Linked DNA regions of Homo sapiens: region 2 is linked to region 1. The links are contacts of gene promoters, found by promoter capture Hi-C in blood cells and fetal thymus (Javierre and others, 2016). All regions are on one chromosome and are shown on one strand. Each heading gives the region's core, a stretch centred on a gene start or on the middle of the fragment in contact. The rest is flanking DNA. Distances are from core to core; before and after follow the strand shown. Region 1 overlaps MTDH (metadherin). Region 2 holds the start of ERICH5 (glutamate rich 5).

Region 1 (4,017 bases), core at 559-3,058:
AAAGAAAAGAAAAAGGAAGTGGACACTATTATTTCTAGTAAGAACTCTATCAGCTACATCACCATGAAGTTATGATGATTTAATCAGATGTTATATAAATTGATCCAGATAGTGAAATCATCAAGAAGGGGTTTTGAAATAACAATATGTTTATACTTTTGGTATTTAAAATAAAAACTTTGCCTAATTATACTGTGCCTTGAAATTTTAGCTAATGGTATTCTGAAACTATTCTAATTTAGCAAGATATCTAAGCATTCAGAATGTAAAAACTGGCATTTCTAGTTTTTTTGGAGGTATTTATTTATGCATTATTCTATATGACAAAATTTTACTGAATTTAATTATAAATGACTGGATGCATTTCTTGAGGGTTTCTTATTTAAATAGAGAAAGAAATACTATGGGGAAACACTTGTTCCTCTGCCATGGTAATTAGCAAAAAACAATATTACAGCCAATCAAAATGCATTCATTCATTAGCATATACTGTTTGATGCAGCATAAAAATGTTGCTAATGATATTAAATAAATTAGTACCAGAGCAAATTTCCCAGCCTGGTAGGGATAATGTACAGATGTTTCTAACATTAAAGCTTGGGAGTACTTGCTAGATTCTATTTCAGTAATGAAACACATGAAGAACCACTTTTGTGAGCAATTAAAGAGATATCCACAAAGATATATTCTCAACTGTAAATCACTTATTTAACTTTTTTGAATGTTTGTGGAAAAACTAAACAAAAACCACTGATGGACGGCTTTGACTGGAATTAAAAAAATAAATGGAGAGTTAGGGAGAGATACCACCATGTGTGAAATTTATTTACTACATTATTTCTAGAAAACTATGATGACAAAAGAGATTAATGCCAGATGGCAAATTGGAAGACCTTCAAATTACAGTAAGGGTGAAGGTGATAATCATCTTTTATGATGCAAAGATTTTACAAGAGGATTCATTGACTCTATTATAGCAAAATACTTTGATAAAGCTGAACAACTTTTAAAAGCGAGTCATACATTTTTTCTCCTTTCTCCCTCTTTCTCTCTCTGTTTCCTTTGCTTCCTTCCTTCCTTCTTTTTTTTTTTTTTTTTTTTTTTTGAGAGAGAGACAGAATTGCTTAGTCACCCAGGCTGGTCTCGAACTCCTGGCCTCAAACAATCCTCCCACCTCAGCCTCCCAATATTTCGGGATTACAGGCATGAGCCACCTTGACTGGCCTATTTTTCTTTTATGAAAAATGAAGTGTTCCAAGTCTGTTTATCTTTTTTATAAAGATAAATGGTTGTCTGCTTACCAGATACTTTTACAAAGAATTTATACTGAATCTGCCCCTTCACGCTTAAGGAAAGCTTACTTAACAAGATGTCAGAAAATAGCCAATTTTTGAAAGAAACTCATGCAATGAAGAGTGTATTCTGACAAACTTACATCATTGCATGATTTGTTATTAAAGAGCGTTTGTACGTTAGATGTGAAAATCCTCATATCTGCCCAGCTTGGGAGCAATTTTCTAACAGAAAAATAGCCTAACAGCCCAGATTCCAGAGCACGAGTACATGGGATCCAATTCCAGTTCTAACACTTGACTAATGATGTGATTTGGGGGTTGGTTAGTAATCACTTGTGCCTCCCTTTTCTTATCTACAAAATGGATAGAATAGCATTTACCTAGGGTTACTTTGAGAATTTAAATGGAACTATGTAAGTAATAGCTATAAACCAGATGTAAAATTTTGTCTTTTTAGTGAATTCACTTGTTAAAAATACAAAAAAAAATTATCTCACCCATGGTAATAACAAGAACAAAATGATGATGATGATAATAGTAATAATAATAATAAAGTAGAAAGTACCAAAAACTGTAGAACTTTCTGATCTACAGTTCAATACAGAAACAATGTATTGATGTTAAAGATTAAAATTTACTGGCTGAATTTTCACAAAAACTTTTGCATAGTTGGAGAATTAGGTTGAAAAATTAGTGTCGTATTTCAGTAAGCATGGCCAATCATGTGTCTTCCATTTTGATCTTCTTACTTTTTCAAGTATAACAATATTTAATACCAGATATTAAAATGAATGCATTTAGAAGATATTCGAAAGAATGAAGCATGTGCATTGATATTGCTATCACTAAAAATAGTTATATTTTACAAATGTATACACTATCAGTGTAGTAGAATGTGTATAAAATTTATAAACAAATATCTTGGGGTATATGCTCAATTTTTTCCCATGGAAGTATGAGAACAACAAGCTTATTTAACCCGCTGTTACAAGAGTGATAGCAGACCCCTTTATCTGGCATATTTACTCAGGTATTTAAGTGAGTTACCATATGTTCCATATATTGATTAGCAATTGAGTATTGGCACTGCTTATTTACTTATTTTGAGTAACTCCTAATAAGATACTAGAATTTTTGGAACTTATTCGTCATAATTTCCTAAGGAATTATCAATCTGTCTTATTCAGTATATATCTTTGGCAGTTTTAGAAAGTTGTAATGGTGGATCTAATGATTATTTATCAAAGCCTTTTCGTCATCTAGTTTTTTTGTTTGTTCGTTTGAGACAAGGTCTTGCTCTGTCGCCCAAGCTGGAGTGCAGTGGTGCAATCTTGGCTCACTGCAACCTCGACCTCCTGGGCTCAAGTGATCCTCCCACCTCAGTCTGCCGAGTAGCTAGGACTACAGGTGTGCACCACCATGCCCAGCTAATTTTTTATTTTTTGTAGAGACACAGTTTTGCCGTGTTGCCCAGGCTGGTCTCAAACTCCTGGCCTCAATCGGTCGGCCCACCTCAGCCCCTCCAAAGTGCTGGGATTACAAGCATGTACCACCGCACCCAGCTCATCATCTAGATTTAAAAGAATGGAGCCATTTGCTGTTCCACGTGCAAATATTGTTTGTAGTCCCAATGAATATGTATTCATTGTCATTTAACTCATTCCTCTTTTAGGAGTGTTATGGTGTGTGTATGTATACATGCACATACATGTGCACACATGCCTATACATGTACTTAACATATAACACAAAGATTTTTTTCTAATGGGACTATACTATAGCCTACTTTGTTGGTAATATCTGTATTATGTATATGAGATGGAAAGAAGACATAATGTGAAATTTAGTGAAAGCTAATAGGAAAATTAACATACAGATTTTTTGAGATGACTTCTGATACATTGAGTGATGTCTGTTTTGAATAATTTCAGAGGTTTTGGGTTAAAGGTCGTTAGTTTCATGCAGTATCTGAACCCCTGCTAATTTCAAATGCTAGACAGGCTTCCTCAAAAGCGTATTTCTATCAGTGCTGATCATGAAGCATTCAAATAAAGGGAAGTAGAGATTCTGTTGAGAATATAATGAAATATCTCTTGTTCTTTTGCTTTTAAGAAGCTTATTATTAGAAAACTGGGAACACTTTAACACATGGAAAGGTATAGCCATACTGGAAATGTCCCAAGGAAGTTTGTGACAAATGACCAAATCTTTTTCAGTTTTAAATGTTTTGAGATGCAAGATTATATGTATTTAGGGGAAAGGAAAAGGGGGACAGTGGTAGAGATAAAGCAAATGGAGTGGAACGTGAGCTGGGTCAGAAAAAAAAAATGAGTACAGGCCATTTCAGGCATTGAACATCGGTAGGGGAGCAGATGATTCAGGTGCAAAGAAAATCACTCCAGCACTTTGTTCTGAGAAAAAATCCACAGTCAGTGCAGCTTGGTTAAAAACAGGAATGTTCAAAGAGGTACCAGTCTTGTAGGAATCAAATGCTCATATGTATGAATAAAGGAATGTAAGGTTGAGATCAATTTGTGGAAGACATCATATGTCATGTAAGGAAGTTAGACCTTGTAAAAGGTAGGAAATATCTGCAGCGGTTTTTTTTTTTAAAGTAAGAATGAAAATTAATTGGATTGATAAGATATATTGGGAAGGAAACTCTTGAAGATAAGAATTTTTTCTTTTTTTTTTTTTTTTTTTGAGATGGAATTTCGCTCTTG
Region 2 (4,017 bases), core at 1,030-3,529, 390 kb after region 1:
AACCCCCAGAACCTACGAATGTGACTGTACAGTATTTGGAAATATAGCCTTTAAATGGGTAATTAAGGTAAAATGAGGTTATATGGGCCCTAATCCAATATGACTGGTGTTCTTATAAGAGGGGGAGATTAGGACACAGACAAGCACAAGGGGGAGATCAAGTGAAGACATGGAGAAGATGGCCATCTACCAGCCAAGAAGACAAGCCCTCAGAAGAAACCAGTTCTGCTGACATCTTGATCTTTGACTTCTAATCTCAAGAACTATGAGGAAATACATGTCTGTACTTCAAGCCATCCAGTCTGTGGTACTTTATTATAGCACCCCTAGCAAACTCTCACAGATGGTAACATACTACATTGGATAGTGTGAGACTTCATGAGTGCTCACTGATGTAAGTGAATAAATGGGGGGAAGGAAAAGCACTTCCTTACTTTGTAGTAGAATGGCAGCTAATCAATATAGAAGGAATAATGTAATTAGAAAATCACAGGCACACTGTCTCATGCCTGTAATCCCAGCACTTTGGGGAGGCAAAGGGAAGAGGATCCCCTGAGGTAAGGAGTTCAAGACCAGCCTGGGCAACATGGCAAGACTCCTGTCTCTATAAAAAAATTTTTTTTGGATGGAATCTTGCTCTGTCACCCAGGCTGGAGGGCAGGCTTGGCTCACTGAAAACTGCACCTCCCGGGTTCAAGAGATTCTCCTGCCTCAGCCTCTCAAAGTGCTGGAATTACAGGCATGAGCCACCGCGCCCAGCCTCTTTCTCTCTAAAAAAAGGCCTGGCCAGGCGCGATGGCTCATGCCTGTAATCCCAGCACTTTGGGAGGCTGACGCAGGCGGATCACCTGAGGTCGGGAGTTCGAGACCAGCCTTACCAACATGAAGAAACCCCATCTCTACTAAAAATACAAGATTAGCAGGGTGTGGTGGCGCATGCATGTAATCCCAGCTACTCAGGAGGCTTAGGCAGGAGAATTGCTTGAACCCAGGAGGCGAAAGTTGTGGTGAGCTGAGATTGTGCCATTGCACTCCAGCCTGGGCAACAAGAATGAAACCGTGTCTCAAATTAAAAAAAAAAAAAGCCTGTTCTCACCGGGTGCGGTGGCTGACATGTGTAATCCCAGCACTTTGGGAGTCCCACGCGGGCGGATCACCTGCGATCAGGAGTTCAAGACCAGCCTGGCCAACATGGTGAAACGCCGTCTCTACTAAAAAATACAAAAAATAGCCAGACGTGGTGGCGCATGCCTGTAATTCCAGCTACTCAGGAGGCTGAAGCAGGGAGAGTTTCTTGAACCAGGGAGGTGGAGGTTGCAGTGAGCTGAGATCTCGCCACTACACTCCAGTCTTGGTGACACAGTGAGACTCCATCTCCGGAAAAAAAAAAAAAAAAAAAAAGGCCGAGCGCAGTGGCTCATGCCTGTAATCCCAGCACTTTGAGAGGCCGAAGCGGGTGGATCACCTGAGGTCAGGAGTTCGAAACCAGCCTGACCAATATGGTGAAACCCCGTCTCTACTAAAATTACAAAAATTAGCTGGGCACGGTGGCAGGCGCCTGTAATCCCAGCTGCTCTGGAGGCTGAGGCTGGAGAATCGCTTGAACCCGGGAGGCAGAGGTTGCAGTGAGCCGAGATTGCGCCACTACACTCCAGCCTGGGCAACAGAGAGAGACTCGGTTTCAAAAAAAAAAAAAAATCTATTCTCTTAATAAATGTCAAAGTCATAACGACAAAGCAAGACTGGAGGAACTACTTCAGATTAAAGCAAACTAAAGAGAGACACAACTAAATGCAACGTGCAGTCCTGGATTGGACAATTGGCAAAAAGGGAACATGGAGGGTGGATTAAATCGTACTGTATCAAAGTTAAACTTCCTTGTGGTAATTGTAGTTATGTAAGAAAATAAGACTGTCATCGCACATCTAGTCTACCAATCAATAGCCCCTAGTCCCAAGGCCGCCTCGCCTCCCTGGCTATTTAGTGATGAGTCAGATGATACCTCCCAGCGCTTCGCCCTCGCCCCCTGACATCCTCCCTATCCCTGCTTTAGGGGCTTTTCCTCTCTTACTGTGCCATACCCTCCACCGTCTCCCCTCCTGTCTCCTGGGCTCTACTCCTCCCTGCCCTCCTCTGCGTCCTGGCCCTCCCGCTCTCTTCCGCTTTGCGCTCCCAGGCTCCTTCCACCTCCTGCCAGCTCCCTTCCTCCTCCAGGTGCGCACCCCCTACCATTAGCCCCGCTGCGCGCTTGCGCTCTACGCCCAAGGGAGCCGGGCTGCAGAGCTGGAGAAACTTCCGCGGCTACGGGTGCAGTTGCCTTCGGTTCCCGGTTCCGGGCCGACACCCGCGCAGGGCTGAGACAGGTGTCTGCGCTCCCCGCAATGGGCTGCTCCAGCAGCGCCCTCAACAAGGCCGGCGACAGCAGCAGGTTCCCCAGCGGTGAGCAGGGTACCGGCGCCGCCCGCGCCCGGGCTGGGGACTCGGGTGGGCTAACTCCCCAGGAGGTCCAAAGGGTGTGTCCCGTGGCCACCCCGCCTGGCAGGAGCCGGGCCTTGTCCCGGAGGATGCGAGCAGAACCCGGGACAAAGCGCGATTTCCTTCCAAATCTGGAGCGGCGCTGCTGTGACCGCGGGTGCGGCGGCCCTGGTGCGCTCCGCGGCGCTCGCTGCGAGACGCGCGGGGCCCGAGGCCGGGCGCTGGATTCACCCTGTCCGCTGATGGGATCTCGGGGAGTTGGTGTTGAGGCCCTAAGGCGGTTAGCCTCGGCATTGCCTTAAACACAGGAGAAATGTCCTATCAAGGCCTTCTACCAAGGCTGGGGGCGGTGGCTGACGACTGCAATCTCAGCACTTTGGGAGGCTGAGGCGGGACGATCTCTTGAGACCAGAAGTTCGAGAAAAACCTGGGTAACAAAGCGAGATCTTCCGCTCCCCCGTCTCTACTAAAACACCAACAAAAAAGACTTTTCCCCATTTACCCTCCCATTAGCGTTTCAGCATCAAAGATGGCAAAAGATGCGGAGAATCCAGAGGAGCATTCACTCCATCAAATGGGTCCCTGCACTCTGAATAGGTCAGACACACTTTCCCCTATCTTCGGCTTAAGTATCAGTTGAGAAGTATGTGTGATCAAAAGTGGTCATCACTGACTCTTGCTGAAGAAACTCAACAAGGACATTTTGAGCATCTGCTATATAATACCCCAGTGCTTGGCTAGATGCTGGAGATACAAGTGACCCTGTTTGTAGAGATTGAAGATAGAAGAGACAGAAAAGAAACACGTGAAACAATTGGCTAAGATCGTTTCTGACAGTGATAAGTACTGTGAAAAGTATAAACGCAGTTACATGAATTAGAGAATGACAGGGTTTTACAGCCGACTCACTTTTCTTAGATTTTGAATGGCTAAAATTTTGGACAATGCTATGGAGGTTAAGCAAACTCCGTCAAGCTAGTTTACAGTCTTCTGCAAGGCGAACTTTAGCGGGGATTTTGTACTGGAGTGAATTCCTTTTCACAGATTTTCTCTTAGCACCTTGTGTTATTGCAGTAACAGAAATGTCTTCCTCTGATGTTGTTGGTAGAGCGCACCAGACGGTGAGGAATGCTTTTCAAAGCTCAGCCGCTGTGTCCTAGTCAGAAATATGTTGTGTTGCTGTTATTTTTGTGGTGTATGAGAATTTATTTCTAGTTTCCATAGATAACGGAAAGCAATGACAAGTCAGGAAGTAAACAAAAAATTAAAAGCATTATAAAAGTAAACCCCTTCTCACTGACAACAATGTGAAAAGATGGAAAAATTCATTTCTAATGCACAGTGCTCACTAACTTTTCTCCTAAAGAACCCAGAGCTTCCATACCTGCAACAAGAGGACAGAGCAAGGAGTTTCTCCGATGTTTCGATGTTTCGTGTTTTATGTTATGAAATTAAGTAGAGTTTTGCATTCTGTTCTATGATAGATTTTTGTGGGTTTCAATATGAAAAGCCGAGGGAAAACAGATGCTTCAGGAAGATACA

What was found. The method cuts DNA at HindIII sites, captures the fragments that hold promoters and counts their contacts. A CHiCAGO score of 5 or more calls a contact.
Region 2: a contact is called between the fragment with the promoter of ERICH5 here and a fragment that was not itself captured in region 1, in 6 of 17 cell types (fetal thymus, naive CD4 T cells, activated CD4 T cells and 3 more). The highest score is 7.8, in fetal thymus.

The regions. Positions count from the first base shown.
Region 1 is chr8:97,677,514-97,681,530 of GRCh38, forward strand. The region is part of intron 2 of MTDH (metadherin); the gene reads left to right. Among named protein-coding and RNA genes, the nearest start is that of MTDH, 35 kb to the left of the region's middle. RefSeq lists a silencer at 985-1,185. The HindIII fragment of the contact is 908 bases long and covers 1,355-2,262 here.
Region 2 is chr8:98,062,289-98,066,305 of GRCh38, forward strand. ERICH5 (glutamate rich 5) reads left to right here and starts at 2,280. Exons shown (of 3, transcript NM_173549.3): 1 at 2,280-2,439. The coding sequence starts at 2,382. RefSeq lists a silencer at 2,321-2,420 and an enhancer at 2,661-2,720. The HindIII fragment of the contact is 8,700 bases long and covers 1-4,017 here.